Regions from separate parts of the Homo sapiens genome. Here region 2 is linked to region 1. Evidence: promoter capture Hi-C in 16 types of primary human blood cells and fetal thymus (Javierre and others, 2016). All regions are on one chromosome and are shown on one strand. The core of a region is centred on a gene start or on the middle of the fragment in contact, and the rest is flanking DNA. Distances in the headings are between cores, read along the strand shown. Region 1 holds the start of LCE3A (late cornified envelope 3A). Region 2 holds the start of LCE2D (late cornified envelope 2D).

What was found. The method cuts DNA at HindIII sites, captures the fragments that hold promoters and counts their contacts. A CHiCAGO score of 5 or more calls a contact.
Region 2: a contact is called between the fragment with the promoter of LCE2D here and the fragment with the promoter of LCE3A in region 1, in 5 of 17 cell types (naive CD4 T cells, total CD4 T cells, total B cells and 2 more). The highest score is 7.1, in naive CD4 T cells.

Annotation. Positions count from the first base shown.
Region 1 is chr1:152,619,984-152,627,758 of GRCh38, forward strand. LCE3A (late cornified envelope 3A) reads right to left here and starts at 3,120. Exons shown (of 1, transcript NM_178431.1): 1 at 2,851-3,120. The coding sequence starts at 3,120. The coding sequence ends at 2,851. The HindIII fragment of the contact is 6,916 bases long and covers 283-7,198 here.
Region 2 is chr1:152,659,049-152,666,823 of GRCh38, forward strand. It overlaps LCE2D (late cornified envelope 2D), which reads left to right and starts at 4,332. Exons shown (of 2, transcript NM_178430.4): 1 at 4,332-4,381; 2 at 5,037-5,611. The coding sequence starts at 5,058. The coding sequence ends at 5,390. The HindIII fragment of the contact is 10,570 bases long and covers 3,800-7,775 here.

The DNA.
Region 1 (7,775 bases), core at 1,870-4,369:
CCAGCCTTTGAAGTCACATAGCATATTTCAACCATATTCATTTGGTTAAAGGAGTTACAAGCCCGCTTAGATTCAAGGTAAGTGGACATAGGCCTAACTTCTCAATGAGAGGAATGTCAAAAAAAATTTGAACCATGCTTTAAAATCATCACAAATAGGTATCAGCCAAATCCTCACCCTCTTGTCAGTTCACTCTACATGTTGCTGAAGCCCTAGTATAAATTAATGTTCCCACAGTGTTTTGAAAAGACTCAGATTTTGGTCATGCTTGTAACATATTCAAGCTTTGAAGAGGGTGGCCACTCCTATAACCTTTATGGAACTAGAATGTTCAGAACTATTGCTGCAATAATGATGTCTTACCAAAATATATCAAAGTTATTTACATATGCCAGATAATTATCTAATTCCTGGCCAACATGGTGAAACCCCATCTCTACTAAAAATACAAAAATTAACCAGGCGTGGTGGCTCGTGGTAGTTTCAGCTACTCAGGAGGCTGAGGCAGGAGAATCACTTGAACCTGGGAGGTTGCAGTGAGCAGATATCATGCCACTGCACTCCAGCCCTGGAGACAGAGTGAGACTCCACCTAAAAAAAATTAAATGCAATGGGAAAATAGTATACATCTGTCATTTATATTCAGCAGAAACACTGGTGAAATAAACTTAATTACCACTATTGTCCATCACTTTATTTTTTCTCCCATCAATTATCATTCAATCCCTCCTTTTTCCTAAAGCGTTCTGGCCAATGTGATATGAGCATCCCTGTGTCTGAACCATTCCTATCTCTTGGATCAATAGTGCAGTCAAGTAAATGCTGAAGCAATGTCTGTCATGTCACAGATCTAGACTGCTAGATTTGCAAGTCTGTCATGTCACAGATCTAGACTGCTAATTGGTGGCTCAGCTTTTAATTCCAGCATTTCTGGTTCATTTTGCCTTTATTTTTTAGCTTTGTTTTCCCCTAGACTCTTCAAGGTTTCTCCTGGTATTTAAAAGAGGGGAGGCAATGGGAATGTCCGACTCCAGTGCCCATGTTCTTGGCCTGCACACTATTCTGCCTCCCATTATCTTAGCTTGCTTCCCTTTCAGATCCAACTTCTCTCAAAGGGCAGCTTCATTTCCTCCCTCTGCCAGGAAACCTTCTGCCCAGGGACTCCTGGCTCTTGGGTCCCATTAGTTCCTCTTAGTCACTTTAGCTAGGCCATCACAGGACCATCAAAGGTCATTTTGCAGGCCAGAAACCTCACCCAACACCCACAAATGATACTAGTGACAATGTCTGGACACTTCACTCTTGTCAGGGAAACAGGGGGTTACCATCCAAAGGATAAGTCCCATGGACTTCCCACACACTTATGTAACAGTCCATATCATTCCAGCTCATAAGTGGATTGCTGACTTGTCAGTCGGCATCTCAAGGATGGGAATCATATTTCACACATTTCTGAGTCCTTTGTGTCAACATATATCTGAACTGTGTCCTCAATTCCTGTTGTTTGAATGAATTAATTAATGAATAAAATAGTATAGACAATTAGTTTTCAACAGTCTTGATAATCAAGGCCAGATATTTGGGTGTTACAGGGACTTCCTGGTTCCCTTCTATCAGAAAACATCTGGGCATCTACTGAATAATTATTGAATTTCCTACTGAGGGGCTAGAGTTTGAAGAGCTGTTACTTGGAGTAGAGTCCATCACTATCATCACTCTCCATGTCCCATCTCCTTTTTTTCTGATTCTAAATCAAAGTAGGAGGAGAAAATACCTTGATCAGCAAACATTCTGAGCCAATTCATCCCTGCCCAAGGCCCTGTTTCCCTGCTGCCCTTAGGTTAGCAAAAACGTGAGCTTAGGGTCATAGGGTCAGGGTCTGAGAAAGACGGTGAGGGACAAGGGGAGACAGATAGGTAGATAGAGATAGATAGATAGATAGATAGATAGATAGATAGATAGATAGATAGATAGATAGAAAACAATGATTTACTTTTTCATTTCTTCCAGGGATCACTGAGCTGAGATGTCCTGAAAGGAAAAACTAACAGCACTGTCAGCCCCCTCCCAAGTGCCTAACCCTCAAGTATCCTTTTGGTTGTTTGCTGCCAGTCTATTTCTGTTGTGGTTCCAGCTCTGCAGGAAGCTGCTACCGGAGTCACCATGGGCCCACAGATCCCACTGACATGCCCAACAGAGCATTCTGGAGGCTCCAGTTGCTGCCACAGCTCTGGGGGCTGCTGTGGTCCTGGGTCATGAAGACTACAGAGTATCAGAGTTGGAGGAACCAGAGGACCAAGGACCTGCTCCCATCTGGAGCTTCTCTTCTTCTCTGCCATCTAGGGCTGAGCTACCAAAGTGTTTTCGGAAGGATCTGAACGGGCCCAGTAAGCTCATTCCCTTTGTTTTCCAGAGCTCTGTGTTTATTTCCAACTCATGCTTCTGTCCTTGACCTTGTGAAAGACTGCTCACCTCATTCCCACACTAATATACAACCCCCCTAAAAGGGTTTTGTGAGTTGAGGGGTGTATGACCCACTTGTGTCTGTTCCTAAGATAGGCCTATGTACCCAATGTGGGGCAGCCCCTGTAAGGCAAAGACGGGAACGCACTGGACAGAGCTTGCAACGAGAAAGCACAGCTTTATTCTTCACAGCACAGGGATATTAAAGAAGGAGGGAAAACACTAAGACCAGCAGGATAAATCCCCTGGGGGAGTACTTGAAACTCATCAAGGAACATCTCAGTAGGAAAGAGGAGACAGGAGCAAAGAAGCACCAGGCTAGGGCTGGTTCCAGTCATTTTGGCACTTTCTTTTCTCAAATATTTTTACTTAATCTCGTGGCTCAGGTCAGCAGCAGCCCGCAGAACTGTGGCCACAGCTGGAGCTCCCGCCTTGCTGACCACTTCCCCTGTCACAGGAGTTGGAGCTCTGGCAACGGCAACGGTGAGACCTGCGGCATCTGTGGTGACTCAGGCAGCAGCTGCGCTCGGAGCTGGGCCCACAGCCCCCAGAGCTTGGGGCACAGCTGGAGGAAGCTGGAGGCAGACACTGTGCTGGGCTCTTTGCAGGGCACTTGGGCGGAGGCTGGCACTGCTGCTGGTTCTGCTGGCAGGACATCTAGGCAGGAGGTCAGGGAGCCTGGGCAAAATAAAAGCAAAGCAAAATACGTGTCAATGCAGGTTTCAGGCCAGGGCCTCCTCATGCTTTGGTTTAATTGTGGATCCCTTCCCCTAAACTCAGTCTGCCCTCCAGCTAAGACCTGGGGAAGGGGAATGCAAACGGATCTGAAGTTAAACCGGCCTGATACTGCCCCTTCCTCCGGCCCTCTCCCCTGCCTGGGAGGCAGCTGACACTCCTGGGTGGGCCTCTGGGGCTCCTGCGCACGCCCTGCGGGGCCTGTCACACCTCCGGACCCGATGCGAACAGCTCCCCCTGCAGGCGTCCCGTGAACACAACGCCCATGACCCTCCAGGGTGGCGTCTCTCTGGACGCCTGTGAGCGCAGGGTGTGAGGAGGCAACGCATCTCTGCGCACATGAGGAAAAGGGGGTTCAGAGGTCGCAGCATCGCGGAGCCCCTGAAGTGGCTCGCAGACTTGTCTGTCTTCCTCACTATCCCGCCCATCTCCCATCCCAGTCCCAGCCGGCCACCCACCACAGCCTCTCTGCCGCCTCCACCGTGTCTGCCTCCTCCCCTCTCCTTGTTGAAGCACAGACGTGTTTGCGCAGCCCTTTCAGCCCAGGTCCTCTCGCCAGCTGGACGCTCACCTGGTTTGGTGGAGGCAGGAGAAGGTTCTTCCTGAGGTGATTGTGGACTGAGGAACCCAGGGCCTCAGCCCTTTTATCCTGGGTATTATGATGCACAGCCCAACTATGTGTCCTCCTTTGCTCCCCAAAGGGAGGGGAAGCACCACACACTCCCAAGGACCAGGCTTTCAGCATATTCTTAAGGCGCATATTTTGAGGAATGACAAAAGGGAAGCAGGAAATCTCGATGACGGTCCAATTATCCACCGTTCAGGCCCTCTGGCTGCTGTTCCACTTTTTTTTCTTCATTCAGCTCACATGCTCTGAAGCCAGGGTACGTCCTTTGTGGGGCCTGGTAATATGGGGACAAACAGAACACATTTCTCCCCTTGACTAGCTCACAGCTTTTCAGAAGGCCAGATGGACAACTGAGCAATTAAATCACATCCTATGTGCTAAGCGACGCAGCACAAGTGTGCACAAACATGGCAGGCTGGGGTCACTGCCTTTGGGTGTCAGTCCCCATTGCTTTGTGGATTCCTTTACATAGGTGATGGAATCAGCCCCTGTGTCCTGAGATGTTGGCTGCACTGAGCTCACTGGACCTGGGTTGAGTAAGGGGTGGAAGAATGGAGCTGGGGCCATGGCTTGAGAGGTAGTGTCTTCAGGGAATATCATGGCATCTTAAAGGTGGCATTGGGCACTGTGGGGGCAGAGGGGTAGAGTGGAGGGAGGTGCAGATGGTATAAAAATGTGACCTCCATCTGTGGGATCAACAGAAATCACACTTAATGGGAAAAAAGGGGCATCCGTTTTTGGCTGTCTGTGAAATGTGCAAGGCTGAATTTAATCCTATATATTATGTTAGTAATTCATTAAAATTTCTTTGAATTTGTTGATAATGATGAGGTTGATGGGGTTGTATGCATTTCACTTAATGAATACCTGTGATAATGCTTGAAGTTTGTATATGATGAATTCATAAAAATGGAATATTATTTACTATTTGGTTTTAGTTATATCAGTGATAAATTTATCAGTGAATTCATCTCTAATAATACAATACAATATGCCATAGCCTCTAAATAAAAACCACTGTAATGAATTTTAAAATAATCTTTATTATACTATATATTCTTCCAAGGAAAATAATCACAATTGAGACAATATTAAGTTTCTAATAATCATGAATTTAAATTATATTGTAATTTTAAGCAAAATGTTATTTTGATCAGAGTATATGAAAGCCTGAAGATGCTTGTTCTTTGGTACAAAATACACTGCTAGAGGATATTAGTTCCTTCTTCCCCTTTGCCTATCACTCCACTTTGAACAAACTGCAATACCATGCATTCTTTTAAGAGTTCTATGAGGTCAGGAGTTCAAGACCAGCCTGTTCAACACGGCAAAACCCCGTCTCTACTAAAAATACAAAAATTAGCTGGGTGTGGTGGTGGGCATCTGTAATCCTAGCTACTCGGGAGGCTGAGGCAGGAGAATCGCTTGAGCTGGGGAGGCAGAGGTTGCAATGAGCTGAGATCGCGCAACTGCACTCCAGCTTGGGTGACAGAGCAAGACTGTCTCAAAAAAAAAAAATAGTTCTGCAGAATTATGAATGGAAGAGTGGGAATTCCTGGTGGAAAGCTGGTGAAAGGCTAGGACAGGTGTGCCAGAAGCATGTTTTTAGGAACATGCTGAATGGGGTCCTCAAGGCTTTGTTAAGTTTTAGTGTCAGAGCTATGCTGGAAGTAACTTTGCCCTTATATCCTTAAGTACTCCTACTTCCTTCCCTCAGAGGATATAATAATAAAAAGAGACAATTGCAAAGGATGTGAATGGGCACTTTTGAAATGCCACACTGGGTGTTGTGAATGAGAAGAGCGTAAAGGAAACATAGATCTCTTCGCACTGCTGCACTGACTTTGCTGGTGGAATGGGTGTGAGAGAAGGACAGGAGGGGATCACCTTGAGGGAAGCATGCTGTTAGTGAAATCTGGGCCTCCTGCAGACTTAATCCTTGTCTGAACCAAATGCCTTTTCCAGACACAGCCCAAAAGGTTGAGGAGAATGGGCTGTGATACCTTCAGAGCAGGGAAAGTACTTATCTCTTGAATTGTTGGTTCACCTAATGCTCTTCTTCTGAGACTGCCAGGCCCAGATCAGCAGCAGTCCTACTGACCTGTGGCAGCAACGGAAGCTCCCACCACTGACCACTGCAATACCATGACCATAGGTAGTAACACTGGTGGGATCAGCTCAGGCATCTGAGCTGCTCCTAGAGCTGGAGCCATGGTGAGATGAGCCTGGAAGAGGACTTGGAGCTGGTCAAAGGTAGTCACTTTAGAACGCACTTGGTGAATTACTTAGGAGTGAAGCACTTGATAGGTGTTTGGTATGGCTGATGGCTTTATTGGCAGCTTATCTCAGCAGGATCTATTTAGCACCTATTCAGATGCATCAAATAATAATAAAAAATGTTTCCTTTTGAAATTAAAATCACATTTTGTAGACAATATATAGGTAAAATAAACAAGTTTCAGAAAGAAAATTTTTTACCCAGATTAATTTCTTTAAGATTTCTTTTTCTCTAGATAAGTATAGATAGGTAGCCATATACATGTATTCATAGATATACATGGCCCGGGCCAAGCTCTCGGCTACTTGCAGAAACTCAGCCAAGGGAGGTTGAATAGTGGCTGGGCTGAGAGTCACTTTGCCTTGGCCTTTAAGGCTATACAATTCCAGGGCCGGTTCCTTCTCTGTCTGGACGTCTCTTTATTCTCCAATCTCTTTCCTTTTTTTTTTCTTGTTCCATCATTTTCACCTTTTCTTCTAAGACTTATGAATCCTGCCACAGTGAAACTTCCCTAGTTTCAGACAAGAACTCCTACCTGTGGAGGCAGACTGGAGGAAAGGCTTGTGATGAAGCTCCCTTTCCTGGGAGATCCAGGGCTGGGCTCTGAGGTGTGATATGGCTATCGGTGGAGCAGGTCAAGCCTCTTACACTTGCAGGGCAGGTAAAGGCTCTTCCTGGCATCCTGTGCTTGCTCATTCCTCCTGTGGTGGCCCCATGGAAACTCCCAAGTGGTTGCTTTTTGTTGCCAATGAGGAGATGAAGTTTTGCCAAGGAACACCCTTTCCTCAGGCTTAGTCCCCACTGAGCAGCCTGGGGATTCCCAAGAAGCCCGTCATTGGATTAGAGATTATATGACTCCAGGTATCCATGTGTCTGTCCCTTCTTAGGAAACATCTAGTCACACCCTCTCCTTTAACTTATTTGAAAGAGGGCAGGAGGAAGGGAGATCAGTTGCTGGCCAGGGGACTGACAGAACAGAATGGATTTGTAGAAAAGCATATTCAAGACTTAGTGACTCATTGTCTGTGCAAGATGGAGGATATGAATTAGCCAAGATTATGTTATTAACTCTCCTAATGATTAGGAGCATAGAAAGCTTTCTTTAGAGAATTTTGAGGTTGAGGTCACAGAAGGACCTTGAAGTGGATATAGCTTCAGGATGTTTGAAGAAATGGGGGTGGAGGCTTATGATCTACTGGTCAAGAAAGTCCTGGAGGGAAACTTCTGAATCACACTCTGATTATTTTCTTGTATTCTCCTCCTTCCTTCCATCCCTCCCTCTTTACCTCTATTCTTTTCTTCTTTCTTCCTCCTTCCCTCCCTCCCTTCCTCTTCCCTCCCTTCCTTTGCACCACTAACCAAGAACCAATTTGGTCTATGAGACCAAACAAAGCCAGTGAATATCACACATGATGTTTCTGTTGTCACTGCAGCCCCAATCAGCTAAGAGTGGTGGGTGGGTACAAAAGTATCTAAAACTTTAAACCACTGATATGAAGATTCATGGAAGCAGTGACCACCTTGTCAACAGTGTTCCTAGTAGCACAGTGTTCCTAGTAGTTCCCAGTTTATGGTACAACAGTGATTGTCCCTGGGCATTATGGGACACATGGCTAGAGACTTTTCATCCTTCTGCTCTGAGCACACCCATCTACACACATTCACCACATA
Region 2 (7,775 bases), core at 3,082-5,581, 40 kb after region 1:
CCTTTTAAACCTATTCACGGTGTGCTGGCAGACAGTTTATAAAATACATTAGTATCTAATTAGTACCTGTAAAGAAACATATTACCCCAAGTTAAAAGTGTTAGAAGTGACATTCCTGAAAACAGAACTAATGCTAAATCAATGTCAATTTCGGTCTCTCATCATTTCATTTCATATCTACAGACCCAATTCCTACCTACTGTATTTCATGAGCTTTAAGAGGGTATCAGTTGTAAGGGGCACCCTTATTTCATGCATCATAAGGAAAGAGAAAAATGTTGCAAATTCAACTATTACATGCCACCAATCATATGCTATATGCTGATTTAAGGGCTGTTAACAAATGTAAGAAGAGTGTATCATGGAATTGATGAATTAAGATAAGTATAAAACCCATCTTCTTTAGGTCATATAAATATGTATGTAGTTACTAGATGGGCCATTCTTGCTTTGCCCAGAACACCCCTCTGCTGTCCTGCTCCCTATAGCAGGGACCTCTTCTCCTCTCGTATTCCATACTCCTGGTGTTGCTCTTTAGACTCCCACATGGTTCTGTCGAGAGCCAGTTCAATGGCCCCCAGTGGTAAACTCACTCTGGCAACCAGCTAAGGAAAATGGCAGGTCCCAGATGAGGCAAAACAGATGCAGGACAGTGTTAGGAAATCTCTTAAAAGTTATGCTAATATCAAGACCTGAAATGAGTCCCAGTTCTGGCAGGACCACGACACATGAATTCTCCAACAGTTCTCTGCCTGGAGTTCATGGCCCTCTAATGTCTATCACCAAATGTGACTTCAGCAAAGAGCCATTCTGGACCTGGGTTCTCAAGCCCCACTTTCCTGTGAAATCATCTCTTGTTAAAAATTAGGGGATAAAATTGTCCAGAACTTAAAATTAAGCCAAAAAGTAATTTCGGATCAGTCTTTTAAATTTTCACTTCTTCCTAGTAACTAACAACCTTGCCTAAGATTTATAAGACTCTAGATTTTTTTAAAAATAATTGGTGGGATGATTTTGCTTACAATATGTGGTGTTGATTAAGGCCCAGACTCTGTAAAGCTAGATTGAACTTACAGAAGATTTATAACCTCATGGTTTCATTGCCTTTTAAAACTGTAACCAGTATGTATCTAAATTTGCAATCTTGTTTTAGAATTTTTTCCTCTGACTGTATATAATTTGTTGTCTCCAATTCTTTGAACCAGCATTACCATCATGCTGGTTCCCTTATTAACAAGTGAAACAAATCTTTGATATATGTCTGCTATATATTAACATATATAAATATACTTTTAACTTTTTGGAAGTTATAGTTAAATAAACCCTTATCTCTACACTTACTCTTTTGGGAGTGAAAACAGGCCCAAACCAGACAGTGCCAGACAGTATCAACAAGAAGATCAAAAGGACTACAAAGATATAGTAAAGGGAAAATTTGGACTAGTGAATCTATTAAATAAGGTGAGATACATCAAGATACATGGTAAGGCTTTTTCTTGTACTGTGGCTAAAATAAATTTCCAGCATTTCATGGGGAATAATTTTCTGGAATATATGCAGTTTAAGCTCCCAGGGAGACAAATCAAGGAGCTACATGGAGAGACCAGCCTGCAGGATACTGACTTTCCAGATGAGGTGAACTTCAGATGAAATGTCTGAAATCACCCCCAGGCCATTCTTCTTATGACACCTATGTGCTCCTTCATGAGGTCTTGCAATCATGCATTGATCCTGCCAACATTCGTGTGGCAATGGTTTGGCTGGTCCCTGAGGGAACATGGGCAACTTGACACAGGGTCTCCTGGCTCAGAGGGATCACATATGATGGTGTGAGGACTGTGGAGACAGAAGCAAGAATACTTGCAGGCAGGTGTTTCTTCACTGACTTGTGAACCAATTCTCAACATTTTCTGAGTTATAAAGGGACAAAGGGGACATGTTAAAGAGCTGCTTATCTCCCAGTTCTGGTTTCCCAGGGGATCAGATCCCATTAGCTCTTCCATTGCTTATTCAACCACTCAATACAGATGTTCATGTATCTGCATGTTCATTTCACCTGCACTTTTATATGAATACAGCATACACACATACAGTGCACACATGCACACACGCACACACAGGCTTGCCTCCCCTACTTCCTCACTTACAACATTGTTACAAATATCTTTGTCAAAGAGTATGAGGAAGCTGAGGGTGATATCACCATGAAGACAGTGGAATGAACTAACATCTTTTAATCACATTGGGAAATAGTGACTCAGGAGGTTCAGTCCCCAAACGTCATCTTCTTTGGTACCCATGTTTGTCTGCAGTCATCTTCAAAAGGGCCAAAATTCTACAGTCCTTGAGGTCATGGGCTACTTATTATTCACCTCTATATCCGTATGTTTGGACATACATGATCCAAGAATGTTGTAGGCTTTCAAAGAATGCCTTTTGAATTCACTGCCCTGGTCACACTGTTGACTTACTTTATCCTTCAGGTAAAAGCTCCCTGAGAGCAGGAATCAGATCTGATAATAGGATTGGATAACTAGGAGAATAGAATCCCTCAGTTAGAAGCTGACAATGGGAAACTATACTTTCTCCGCATCCTCCCCTCCCCCATAAGTAGGCATTAGGCAATGTGAAGGCGCGGTCTGTTTCTGTTTTAATCAGAGGTGTGAATATTTTTTTCAATTCTAATTTTAACATCTTTATTGAGACGTAATTCACATATTGTATAGTTCACTTGTTTAAAGTGTAAATTCAATGGTTTTCAGTATATTCACAGAGTTGGACAATCACCACCACAATTTTAGAACATTGTCATTACTCCACAAAGAAAACCTGTATTCATTGGCAGTAACTTCCCAATTTCTCCCAGCCCGCTAAAGCACCTGGAAGCCACTGATATTTCTCAGAGGACAGGCATAAACATAAAAGGAGATACAGGGAACAGAATCTCGTCCAGGCTCCCATTCCTCGGATGTCCTGAGTCAGCTCTTCAGGGGTCCAGCCTGGGAGAGGCTGTAACTGGCTAAAGCCTCATCCCCTTTCATTTCCAGAGATTTGCCTACTCTACACATTTCATATAAATAACATCATACAATATGCAGTCTTTTATGACTGGCTTCTTTCACTTAGTGTAATGTTTTCAAGGTTCACACTCAATGTATCTGTTTAAACTAAATGAATAAATGACTGGGTAACTCTGTCTAGTGCAACCCTGAATCAGAACTCTGAATAACTAGACCCCTGGCTGACCCTCTACTTCCTGGTAGGAAAGGAGTTCCCTCTGCATAGGAGCCCCAAGAAATGATGTGTACTTCCCAAGAGAGGTTTCAAATAATCTCAGTGTCTGATTGAATTAAACCCTCTGAGGGTAAGGACTCTATACAGGCAATTAATGACACATAAGACCTGGGCAAGTACCCAACACATGGCATTAGTTTTCTTTGAAACACATATTTATTAAGGGTCTATCAGGCATATAGTGTTGTACCAAGTTTTTTCTTACTTCTTATTTAATATTCAAAACAGCTCAGTGAGATAGGTATATCTGGTTTATAATGGCCATTACATATGAGAACTGATACTCATAGTGAGTATCATAATGACACTCTAGCAATTGTTGATAATTGTTCTAGCTACTTCTATAGGTTACCAAGTTATCATATGCAAGTTTCCTGATTCCGGCAATGGATTCAATACAATTGCTTCGACTAAAGGAAACGTTTAGATTTTAGAGGGAATTGCTTATTCTCAATCATTCTCCTTGCTCTAGGAGACAGAATCAACTCAGATTTAATTCAGTGAAAGCTTGTCATGATGAGTCTGAGGAAAAGCAGAAACTCAGAGGCCGAGAGGAAGGACTGTGAGCCTAGTCAAGGGAGGGATGCCTAGAAAGAGCCAAGGCTGTAGAAGCCCCCTGGGATGGCTGGATGCACAGCAGGACATGGAAGACAAACTGCTCAAGGTGCAGGGAGTCATAATGGAACATTTCCACAAGGTCAGGGAATGCTGTGGCTCAGAGCTGATGTAACCTCAGAGGACAGGAATAAAAAAGATGCAAGGAACAGAACCATGTCCAGGCATGGGTGCCTTGGGTTCCCTAAGTTAACTCTTTAGGGCTCCCACCTGCTGGAGGCTCTGACTGGCTAAAGCCTCTCTAGACCACAGCCCCAGAGAGGAGTCCTAGAAGCTCCCGAGGCCTCTTTGGGTGCAGGGACTAGGAGACAGGAGAATGTCAGGAATGACCCAGCACGTGCCTGGTTGTGCAAGAGCCACCTCCTGCTCTTCCCAGAGCCAAGTCTGAGTCCTATAAAAGACACATCCAGCTTCAGCACCTCATCTGCTCTGACTCCCCAGGGACGTGTCTGTGCTTTTGCATGTGACCAGGGTGAGTGGCAACCTGGGATACCAGAAGGGTATTAGCAAGGTAGAGGGATGGGGAGGATGGAGGTAGGCTGGAGAAAGATAGTTGTGCGCTTGTGTTCTCCCATACTGAGCAGGAATAGGACTCAGTTTGCCTCAAATCTCTAGAAGCTCTGGGACTTGCTGGAGCTCACGTAGAAGGGAATAGCTAACTGTGCCCATCTTTCCCAACTCTGTCTTCAATGACTTCATGTTGGCCATCTTGGGCAGATTTGCACCATGGAAATTGTCAAATGCTTCAGGCCAGGCCCTTTTACCTGGAGTTTTCATGGCTAAACATTTTCCAGAGGATCCCTGGTGTGTCTACAGCACCCATCTGGGCGCTGGGGCTTGTATTAAGAGAACAGGTACTTCATGGAGCTGTGAATACTCTATTCAGGCTTGTGAAGATAGAGCAATCCCAGCTTCCCTCTGAAAGGAAGAATATGAAGCTCATTCTGTTGATTTTTTAATCTATGTACTTTTATCTGGAAGAAAGATTCAAGTTGTTTCTTTCAGGTTACTGATGTGACTGTATTACCTAAATATCATTCTTCTTCTACACATGCATTGATTTTAGAGGAGGCATAATTATGACCTTTGGTTTGAAATATTTAAAGAGTTTCATTATTATCTTTTAGGTTGACTAAACTCCTGCCAGGATGTCTTGCCAGCAAAACCAGCAGCAGTGCCAGCCCCCTCCCAAATGTCCTCCCAAGTGTACCCCAAAATGTCCACCTAAGTGTCCCCCCAAATGCCCACCACAGTGCCCAGCTCCATGTTCCCCTGCAGTCTCTTCCTGCTGTGGTCCCAGCTCTGGGAGCTGCTGTGGTCCCAGCTCTGGGGGCTGCTGCAGCTCTGGGGGTGGTGGCTGCTGCCTGAGCCACCACAGGCCCCGTCTCTTCCACCGGCGCCGGCACCAGAGCCCCGATTGCTGTGAGAGTGAACCTTCTGGGGCCTCTGGCTGCTGCCACAGCTCTGGGGGCTGCTGCTGACCTGGGCTGCAGAAGAGCTCTGGTACTGAATGGTCAAAAACCTGCTACAGCCTGATGCTTAACTATTTCCCCTTCCTTTCATTCCACTCATGGGTGGACAGGGACCACAAAGACTCATGGGGCTTCCCCAGAACTTTGTGCTTGATGGAGCACCCCAGATGGAAGCCTTCTTTTTCTCCTTTACCTCATATTGTAATAAAGCTCTGATTTCTGACTCTTTAAATGTCTTGGTCATACTCTTCTCTTCTGAGATTTCTAATGTCTTCTAACGGTCAGGGCCCCAGAGAAATTCTCTTCATGAGGCAAGGACAGGACATGAGCAAGTGATACATGAAAGGCTGCTCCGAGGAACTGATTACCCCAACTGCAGGGTAGATGGAGCTCCAAGATGATCACCTCTGGCAACGGCAGCTTTGACTTTGTCCCCACTAAGCCAGACATATGTTCTAATTTTCTGTGTATTCCAGACATTGGGAAGGTTGGGAAGCTCTGTAGACTTGTTCTTCTCTAGGGAGAAGAACACATCTCTATGAAGCAAAACTTCCCTGCTGTTCGAATCAATAGTTGAATAAAATGCTTGAAACGAATGTTGAGACCCCTCCTCCTGCAAAGTACAGCCCATGGTCAGTGAACTCCCTTCCCAGGAGGGTGAGTCTGGTTAAGATTCACTTCTTGACTTGCTCTCTCAGACACCTGGCGTCTCTTCCTCTCAGTGTGAAGGGAAAAGGGACACAGCAGGGGGAAATAAGGACTAGTGCTTCTTAGGTTCAGGCTGACAGGTGTCTACATGAAGATGATGGATTCAGTGCAGAGAGATTCTGTCAGAGGTGGAGTCTCTTATTAAGATGTTCATCTGCCTCCTCATCCTTACTGCTGCTAAGACAAACACCCAGCTGTTTAACCAGTCTGAGATTCTGTACTCTCCGCATTTTAAATCACCCACTGCACTGAGTCAGTTTATTTGACTTGATGCTCTTCATTATTTTTTCCAGTCTCATTATTAACTGAATTTTCAAGTCCCTGACCAGTAGTAATTTTGAGCTTCTAAAAATATGTACATTGGCCATTTCTACAAAATTTGTAATATGATTTTAAATTTTCTTTTCAATTTTCAAGAGCTCTTGATATATCATGGATATTAACCTTGATCTGTGTTTATTAAAATATTTAATGCATCAGATTTAATTGAATCCATTTATAATAGCTTTTGCTATGGAAAGATTTTTAGTTTTTATATACTCAAATATGACTTTCTTCGCTTTTATAGCTTCAGGGTTTCCTGAGTTGGTTAAGAAGTTTTCCCTTGTCCTTAGTGTTTACATGTGAGCAGCAAAACAAATGAAAAAACCAAACAGTACAAAATGGAGTGCCAAGCATGGGACCTAAGGTTGCCCGGGGCAGTTGAAGGCTGGCCTACAGAGAGGTGGACACCCAAGTGTGCTTTCAGGGACCTCTGCCTTAAGTAAGAGCAACCCACCGGCCATTCCCTTCCCCAGTGGGCCTGCTATCTGGGCCTCCATGTGCTCCTTTCATAGTGAGCAACTTCCTTTCTCTATCTAACCCTCCATACACAGAATAATTTCCCATCTAACTTTTTTTGTTTTAAATTATGCTTTAAGTTCTGGGATACATGTGCAGAACGTGCAGGTTTGTTACATAGGTATACACGTGCCATGGTGGTTTGCTGCACCCATCAACCTGTCAACTACATTAGGTATCTCTGCTAATGCTATCCCTCCCCTAGCCCCCTACCCACTGACAGGCCCTGGTGTGTGATGTTCCCCTCCATGTGTCCATGTGTTCTCATTTTTCAACTCACACTTATGATTGTGAACATGCAGTGTTTGGTTTTCTGTTCCTGTGTTAGTTTGCTGAGAATAATGGTTTCCAGATTCATCCATGTCCCCCCAAAGGACATGAACTCATCCTTTTTTATGGCTGCATAGTATTCCATGGTGCATATGTGCCATATTTTCTTTATCCATTCTAACATTTGTTTTTAGCTGCATCTTACTTTGTGTTTGGCATGTGTGCAGGTGTGTTAGAAAATTATGTTCGGATGCTATCAGAGGAACTCAAAATTACAGCAATTTAAAAAGGAAAGCAGACTATTTCCACTCACATATGATGAAGTCAGAGGTCAGTGGTCCATGGCTGGTACGGTGGTTCCCTGGAGTCTTCAAAGATGGATACCCCTATGTCTTGTCAATTCATTGTTAGCAGTTGTTTCCTGGGAGGTAGTTGGTGATCTCGAGGTGCCTGATAGAGTTCTGATCTGCAAGGCTGTGCTTCAGGTAGGAAGAAGGAGAAAGGGTGGGTAAAAGGCCCTGACCCCAGTAAAGCCTCTTACCTGAGCTTTCCTAAAGTCCCAACAATTTCCTGAAT